Regions from separate parts of the Homo sapiens genome. Here region 2 is linked to region 1. The links are contacts of gene promoters, found by promoter capture Hi-C in blood cells and fetal thymus (Javierre and others, 2016). All regions are on one chromosome and are shown on one strand. The core of a region is centred on a gene start or on the middle of the fragment in contact, and the rest is flanking DNA. Distances in the headings are between cores, read along the strand shown. Region 1 holds the start of SLC6A7 (solute carrier family 6 member 7). Region 2 overlaps HMGXB3 (HMG-box containing 3).

Evidence for each region. The method cuts DNA at HindIII sites, captures the fragments that hold promoters and counts their contacts. A CHiCAGO score of 5 or more calls a contact.
Region 2: a contact is called between a fragment that was not itself captured here and the fragment with the promoter of SLC6A7 in region 1, in 1 of 17 cell types (megakaryocytes). The highest score is 6.1, in megakaryocytes.

What each region holds. Positions count from the first base shown.
Region 1 is chr5:150,188,378-150,192,809 of GRCh38, forward strand. It overlaps SLC6A7 (solute carrier family 6 member 7), which reads left to right and starts at 1,685. Exons shown (of 14, transcript NM_014228.5): 1 at 1,685-1,983. The coding sequence starts at 1,951. The HindIII fragment of the contact is 12,060 bases long and covers 1-3,517 here.
Region 2 is chr5:150,021,236-150,025,184 of GRCh38, forward strand. It overlaps HMGXB3 (HMG-box containing 3), which reads left to right. Exons shown (of 20, transcript NM_014983.3): 7 at 3,027-3,445. It also overlaps the pseudogene RPS20P4. Among named protein-coding and RNA genes, the nearest start is that of HMGXB3, 22 kb to the left of the region's middle. The HindIII fragment of the contact is 580 bases long and covers 2,189-2,768 here.

The DNA of each region.
Region 1 (4,432 bases), core at 435-2,934:
CTCCTGAGCCAACTGCCTCATCCCTGCTCGCTGTCCCTGTGGCCCTCTGTGCCTTCCAAAGGGTCTCATGAAACCCAAGTGCCAATGGGAGGGAGTGGTTGAGCAAGGTTGAGCCTCTTTTGTACAAGATGCATTGACAAGCCTTGGGTGAGGGATGGGGAAGTTTCCTGCCTGGGCCTCCTTGGATTCAGGAGCCCTTGGCTTCTGCCTTTCCCAGCCATGACCCACAGCTTTCCTGGCTTCATCCCCAACGCCCAGTGCATGACTTCACTCCTCTGGGACAGTTTCCACAGGTGTAAAATGAGATGCACAAACATGTCTTCCCAGACAGTTGGAAAGAATTAAAAATTAGATGTTGGATGCAAAAATCCTTCATAATGCACACAGTAGGGCTCCATAAATGCTCCTTCTCTTCACACTCACAGCCACTCTTGGCCCCATATGGGTCAGCAGGCAGGGGGCAGAGGAGACACCTTCCTCCTGGGTCTGGAGAGCCCCTGGTTTGCCCTTTGTGGCCAGGCTCAAAGGGGAGAGAAGTTTGACAGGACCTGGGCAGGGGAAGGGGTGGACTGGAGCCTGGCCAGGCCTTTACCCAAGTCCATGCTTTGACTTAAACCCCTCCAACCTTTTTTCAAGCTCCAGAGGTGGGAGAGAGCAGAACCTTATTCTCATCTCTCCCCAAAGGCCTCCCACCGTGTCAACTGATAGTGAGCCAAACAGATGTATGGTTAATGTCTAAACTGGGACACTTGCGAGGGTGAAAAGGACACAATTTGTAATGTATATACTGATCCGCTAGTGTCTATCAGTCAGTCCCAGCAAACCAACGTGTGCCATTGCTCCAGCTCATCATTTCCCATCCTAGCCACAGGCTCACTGGACCCTCAGAACATTCTGAGGCAACAATGCATGGGCGGCTCGTGGCCCATTTTACAGATATGAAATTAGAACTTTCCAGAAGCCATACTGCTGCTGGACAGGAAACCAGTTACTAATCATCTAAGTCACAGATCACAGTGACACTGTGGCACTTGCCTGTCCCTTCTGCTCACCCAAACCTCCCCATTTTGCTTTCATCTTAAGGAAAGGAGGAGAGTTGAAGACTCTACTAGCCTAAAGGTCCATGAAGCCTGACTCTGTCCCTGGTGTCACTCATTAGCCCCGTGACTTTGAGTAAGTAACTTAACTTCCCTGTCCCTCAGCTTCCTCATCTGTAGAATAGGAGTAACGACACCTGTCTCTCCAGGTTGAGAAAATAGGACACCTAGTTCAGGACCTGGCACATTTTAGGTGCTCAATAAATACTGATAGATTGAATAATTGGACTAATGGTGGCGTGGGCAACCCACAGTCAGTGAATAAATGTTAACTGAGCACCTACTATGTGTCAGGCTCTTTGTGCTAGATGTTTTCTATGCTCCATCTTCCTGAATTGCTCACACTCCTGTAAGAGAGGAGAGATTCTTATCCCCTAAGGTCGCACAGCAAAGACGACGCAGGGGGGTGGGCTGTTAGTGTTCCTTGCCCAACTGTGGAAAGGGAGTCCCAGAGAGGGCAGGTCGCTTGCCCAAGGTCACGCAGAAAGCCGAGGGTTTCCGTCGCGAACCCCCCTCCCCACTCGCTCAGGGCTCTCCAATCCGCAGCTCTGCGTGCGGGGGCGCGCGCATCCCCCCGCCGTCCGTCCGTCAGCTGTCTGTCTGGGTGTCTATGCGGGCGCAGCAGTGCACCCTTCCCCAGCCTCGGGCGCTGCGCAGGGACAGACAAGGCATTCGCAGCGCCCTGCCCGCGCTCCACGCCCGCAGCCGCCAGACGGCAGCGCCTGCGTCCGTGCCCGCCCCAGCCGGTGCGCGGGAGCCGCGGGGGCAAAGGCGCAGTGGCCAGCGGACCATCTCTCGTGCCCTCGCTCTCTGCGCTCCGGGGCAGCTGAGCCCCGGCCACCCGCTCTCCAAGATGAAGAAGCTCCAGGGAGCTCACCTCCGCAAGGTAGGGCACGAGGGCGGGGGCGCTGGGGGTGCACCTGGAGGAGGGTTGGAGAGACCCGCCCCCAACGAGGCCCCTGGGGAAGGTCTGAGGATGCACCCAGACCAGCTTCGGGCTCTGGGGAAGGCCCGACTCAGCTGGATAACAGGGAGGGTCAGGGTCACGGTCTGCGCCCCCACCTCTGCCCCTGCCATCTGGGGTTCGGGATGTAGTATGAGGGGAGTCCTGGTTCACTGGGCCAGGCCTATGAACAGGTGTCTGCAGTCCCCGGAGGCGCGGGGTAGGGGCGGCCGGGGCCAGGCACCCACCTCTTCCCCAATTCCACCCTGCTGCTCCCCGCCAGGAGCTGATTGCCGGGTGTGGGGGGTATTGGAATACCTGAGCGTTGAGCTGGACTCATCTGAGGGGTGGGGAGTGGGAGGCGGTCATCCATACTGAAGCCGGCTCCCTGAGCCTGCGGGAAGACTCTCCTCTTTCCTGCCTGCTCCCTCCCCGCCCCCTTAGCTTGCCTGCTGAGACCCCAGGCTGCCCCTCAGCAGGGCTGAAGGGAGGCAAAGACAGGGAGGGGGCTATCGGAGGCAGGAGGATATGATCAATGAAGATGGAAGCTGGTATGGGAGAGTGGCTGTGGGCCCAGACCTCAGGCTCTCCCTACCTTGCCTTGTGGGATTGGACCTCTCAGCCAAGCTGTCAGGATATGGGGAGGGGGAATACTGGGGGACGTTTTCTGGCTTGTACCAGTCCTAACTAAGGAGTCAGATCTCCTGAATACTATTTCTGCCGCTGCCACTTGCCTGGTGACTTTGGACAAGTTCATTCTCTAACCTGAACCTCCTCTGGCTAAGCCCTAGCCTGGAGGCACCAAAACAGGCCCCACTGGGTGTGTGAGGTGTGGGGAAGAATGCTAAAGGGCTGGTAGATGTGAGAAGACTGTTCTCAGGGGCTGGTGTTATCAACCTCCCTACATACACACACATTCACACTCACACTCACTCACACACACACTCATTCATTCAAGTTCTCTGCTCTGGGGCAGCTGGGCTTGGAACCACTGTGGTGTGTCTTTTTTCTTTTTCTTGTTTTTTTTTTTTGAGACGGAGTCTCGCTCTGTCACCCAGGTTGGAGTGCAGTGGTGTGATCTCGGCTCACTGCAAGCTCTGCCTCCCGGGTTCACGCCATTCTCCTGCCTCAGCCTCCCGAGTAGCTGGGACTATAGGCGCCCGCCACCACGCCTGGCTAATGTTTTGTATTTTTAGTAGAGACGGGGTTTCACCGTGTTAGCCAGGATGGTCTTGATCTTCTGACCTCGTGATCCGCCCGCCTCGGCCTCCCAAAGTGCTGGGATTACAGGTGTGAGTCACTGCGCCCAGCTGGTATGTCTTTTTTATTCACTGACATGAGTGACTTCTTGAGACCATTTGTGAGTCTCTTGGGTCCTGTTTCCATTCTTTTCCACTCTCCTTCTCTTCCCTCTCTGCCCTCCCTCCCCACAAGAGGCCCTGTCCCTCTTGCTGGGTGCTGGGCTGGGGGGTTAGCAAGCTTTATCTCATTTAATCCTTTAACACTTCCAGGGGCTAGGTCTTAGTAGCCCCACTTTATAAATAAGGCAACTGAGGCACAGAGGGGTGAGACTCACTGCTTACCTGCTGGCAGGCTAGGCAACCTAGAGCCAACAGGGCAGAGGGTTGGTTCTAGGTTGCTACCTCCTCTCAGGGTCCTTTCCCTTTTCTCAAGCAGAATTGGGCGGGAATGAGAAAATGCCAGATTTCCGCAAAGGAGCAGCATTGCTCAGAGATGAACACTGGACTTAGAGTCAGGGGATCTAGGTCCAAGTCTTGCTGTGCCTTTAACTTGCTGTTTGACCTTGGGCTCATCCCTTCTTCCTGAAACTTGGTTTCCTAATCTGCACAATGATGAAGCTGGACCCCAGATTCCTATTGTCTCTCTCTGTCCTGAAGAGTCTTGGCTTGGGCAGTCTTGAGTCTCCCAGCCCCTGCTGTGAGTCCCTAAAGGCGAGCATGCAGGTCTGACAAACTCAGCTGTGTGTTCCTGCATGCCCCTGGGGTAGGGAGTGGGAGATTCAGGAGTGGGAGGCTTACACCCAGGAAGAAGTATGAAGCAACTCATTCAGCTTCCAGCCCTGCCCCAGCTATTTGATTGCTTTCTTCCATCTCCCAACCAGCCCCATCCTCACTGTGCCAGCCTCCTGGGATTCACCCCATGGTGGGGTTGGGAACTCCAGTTGGGCTCCTGATTGGCTCAGCTTTGGAGGACCCTATCTCCTGCCCCTGGAGCAGAAGCAGGCTTCCCTCTGATTGGGGGAGGAGGGGGACGAGCTGGCAGCATCCTGCTCTTGGAACTCTAGTCACCATGGAAACAGAGAACCGGGACCGCTCCATGAGCATGGAAAGGGCAGCTTCTCTGGAGGGATCAGAGGATCCTCATTACTGGG
Region 2 (3,949 bases), core at 1,229-3,728, 170 kb before region 1:
CATTTTACCATCAGTGCACTTAGAATTTTAGAAATAAATTGACTTTGATTATCAGCTACTTCAACTCTTTTGAGTTTCCAGCTAAGGAAAAATAGATTTTGAAAAAGCGACTTACTAAATTCACACAGCCAATTATCCCATTGCCTTTTCCACTAAACCACACTTCTCAGGCATTGCTGTGCTGTTTAGCTGCAGAATGTAAGACAAGCTTGTCCAACCTATGGCCCAGGATGGCTTTGAATGAAGCCCAACACAAATTCATAAACTATCTTAAAACATTGAGATTTTTTGTTTTTTAACAACTGGTAATCAATGTATTAAAATAGTTGACTTAAGCATCTGCAGTGGTGACTTGCACCTCAACTCCTGGCTCAGTACTGATGGAAGTAATTTGCTTAACAATCTCAGAAGGACTGTGCAAGTCAATTAGTTGCTTGTGGATTCTCCTATGGAAACATTCCTATGTCTTAGAACCTTGACCACAAGTTTTTCTTGTAGTGATTCTCAAAGTCTTGGTAGGCATTCGAACTGATCCTTTCACTGAGATTCTTTTCCTTTGCTCCTCTGATCAAGTCAGCACACATCTTCTCCAGGGATTTTATGTTGCAGCTCGTTAGAGTGATTTGAATTCGGTGAATTGCCACCTCCAGCTCCATGGGTGTTTTTCCGGTGTCTTTAAAAGCCTTGGCTGCAGCGGGCTTCCTGACCGACTTGTTCCTTGGCGAGAGAGAACAGCGGTGAGTCAGGAGCAGGAGCGGGCAGGAGCGGGCGGACCGCAGCTCCGCACCACCTATGACTGTGTCTTCCTCAAAGAGCAAAACATTATATTTTTTTGTGTGTGATTATTTTATTTTTATTTTTTTAGGCTCATCAGCTATTGTTAGTGTTAGTGTATTTTATGTGTGACTCAAGACAGTTCTTCCAATGTGGCCCAGGGAAGCCAAAATTGGACACCCCGATCTATTAATAAGATTTCTTGAATTCTGATTTTTGAGGCAGCAAGTATAATTTGTCTCTAAAAGCTCCAAGTGTGTTTGTGCCAGCCAGGAAATGACTCACCTTTTGTTGTATTGTTCTAGAGTTCATACTGGCTAAAATTAGCCCAAGAAATATGTGGCATAGTTCCCAATGAGTTGGATAAAACAAAAGATAGTATATAAGGCTGTTTAGCTCAAGGCTTCATTCTTAAGGCTCTCTGATGGCAGCAGTTGAGGTCTCTCTGAGCCTGCAGCCTCAGAGAATTTTGAAAGTAACATCTAAAATGAGTAGGCTGAGTTAATGAAATGTGAGATCACCAGGTAGAGTTGTTTTGCTCAGATTGCTTAAATTACCCAATCTTTCTGTGGTGATTTTTGTCTAAAATAGCCTACTTAGTAGGCAGTGTTTGCTCAAAAATCTTATCTCAAAAAATGAGTTTAGTCTCCTGTTTTTCTGCTAAATTTTCCCTCTCCTGCAGTAAATAAGCTCTGTGCACTTGACTTGGAATTTTTCTCCATGTTAACTCACTCTTAGGGGCTATTATGTGTTAGAATCTGAGAATGCTTTACCAAAGAGCTCTTAAGAGGTCACCTGTTACTGGCTCTTTTTTTTTTTTTTTTTTTCCAGACAGGGACAGGGTCTCGCTCTGTCACCCAGGCATGAATACAGCTCATGCAGCCTCAGCCTCCTGGGGTCAAGTGATCCTGCCACCTCAGCCTCTCGAGTAGCTGGGAACACAGGCACACAGGCTGCATACCACCATGCCTGGCTAATTTTTTTTTTTTTTTTTTTTTTTGTAGAGATGTGGTCTTGCCATGTTTCCCAAACTGGTCTTGAACTCCTGGGCTTAGGTGAGCCTCTTGCCTCAGTTTCCCAAAGACTTAGGATCACGGGCATGAGCCATGACGCCTGGCTGTTACCAGTTCTGAACTAGAAGTGCAGTATGCAGATGGCTTTGGAAATGTTGAGGGGTTTTTGGGTAGTAAGCGACTGGGAGATAAATCATTGAAATTTAGTGACATTGGCACAGACACTAAACTTTCTGTAATGTGCAGGGAGGTCCTACACACTATAGAATTAGGTCACCCAAAATGCTGTCTGGCTCCTGTTGACAAATACTGAGAGCCCAACCCTTTGCTATTTCATAAGGGGAAATGAGGATTCAATTGAAGCTTGCCTTATACCACATAACTAATTAGGAGTGGAGCTAAGCTTGATAGAACCCAGCCTTTATGTTTCCTAGTTTACAGTGCCCTTTATGATATACATGGTGGGTAGAAAACCTTTCTGAAGACAACCACTATTTAAAAACATTTTTAAAAGCGTATGTGTGTATATATAATACTATTATTTCCACTGCAGTGCTAATTGGATAAAAGCTAAGACACCAAGGACTTTTTAAAGCCAGGTCTAGCTGAAATAGCAGCTGCCATTTTTAGTGAGTTTGAATATTTGTAGCACATAATAATGCATGAGTTAATTTGATCCAGTGCAAAGTATGTGACATATGTGCAAGTCATTCTTAAGACTCTCCTTAAAGAATCTGGGACAAAAAACAGAATTTTTCCCAAAGGAGATGGGAAAATTTGAATCTGTCCACATGAGGTTGCGGCCACATTGGGATTAACTGAATCTCATAAAAGGACCACCAAGGTGAACAACTTAGGGCTTTTAGGCCCTGTATGGCAGTATGTCACCCTCTTTCTAGACACACAGAAGTAGCCTTTGAATAATGTAAAACTAAATGTAAACCTAAAAAATGCCAACATTTGGTTGATGAAACCTGGAGAAGCTTTTCAATAAGAATTCATTAGAAGATGAACAGTTTTATTCAAACGAAGGCATTTAATGCTATAGTGAAAGGAACCTGTAGCCAGAAAACTTAGATTCAGGCTAGTTTTACACTTGAGATCTTAAGTTAACTTCTTCCTTTCATGGACCTTAGTTTCCTTATTTATTGCCCATATGTTATTAAAAATGAGAGAATGTTTGTGAATGTCATCAACTGTAAAATCCCTTATGTATACAAGGTATTCTTATTTTTCTAGGAAAAGCCAGCCAAAGTAAAAGTGGAATTGGCTTCTGGCGTCTCTTCCAAAGGCTCTGTGGTGAAAAGAAATCAGCAACCTGTCACCACTGAGCAAAATTCCTCTAAGGAAAATGCCTCCAAACTGACTCTGGAGAATTCGGAAGCTGTAAGCCAGCTCCTGAACGTAGCTCCTCCCAGAGAAGTAGGTGAGGAGAGTGAGTGGGAGGAAGTGATCATCTCCGATGCCCATGTTTTGGTTAAGGAAGCTCCCGGGAATTGTGGTACAGCAGTCACTAAGACGCCAGTCGTCAAAAGTGGTGTGCAGCCTGAGGTCACTCTGGGGACAACTGACAATGACAGTCCTGGAGCAGACGTACCAACACCATCCGAGGGGACAAGTACCTCCAGTCCACTCCCTGCTCCTAAAAAACCTACAGGGTAAGTCAGTGTGTTTGTATAATATAGGGCTTTGGAAATGCCCCATGTTTCTTTTATCTCATGTCTGTACAGCATGCCTGAGAGAGGCAGCAGAGACCAGGCAATGGTTCCTGTTTTAGAGATACAGAAACCAAGGCCTAGAGATATATAAAGATTGTCCCTTCCCCCGGACTCTGCTATTCATGTACTGCTGTCAGATTACTTACACATCTCTTCTTGTCAGTCTCCCTAAAGCATTAATTAGAGTCTTGCTGGTATAGGCTCTGGGCAGTATTAAAACTATGAGTTACCAGTCCTGGATACTGGATTTGGAAAGAGAATCTTTATTAAAGCATCCTGTAGAAAGAGTTCTGGCCTTATAGTCAGAGAACTCAGTACTGGTTCTGACTGTTTCTGGCTTCTGTTTGACTTTGGGCATTGTCACTTCATGTCTCTTCACCTCAGTTCTCTCCTCTGAAGAATCTTGAGTTGGATATTAGAAAATCTTATCCTCACAGGCTGACT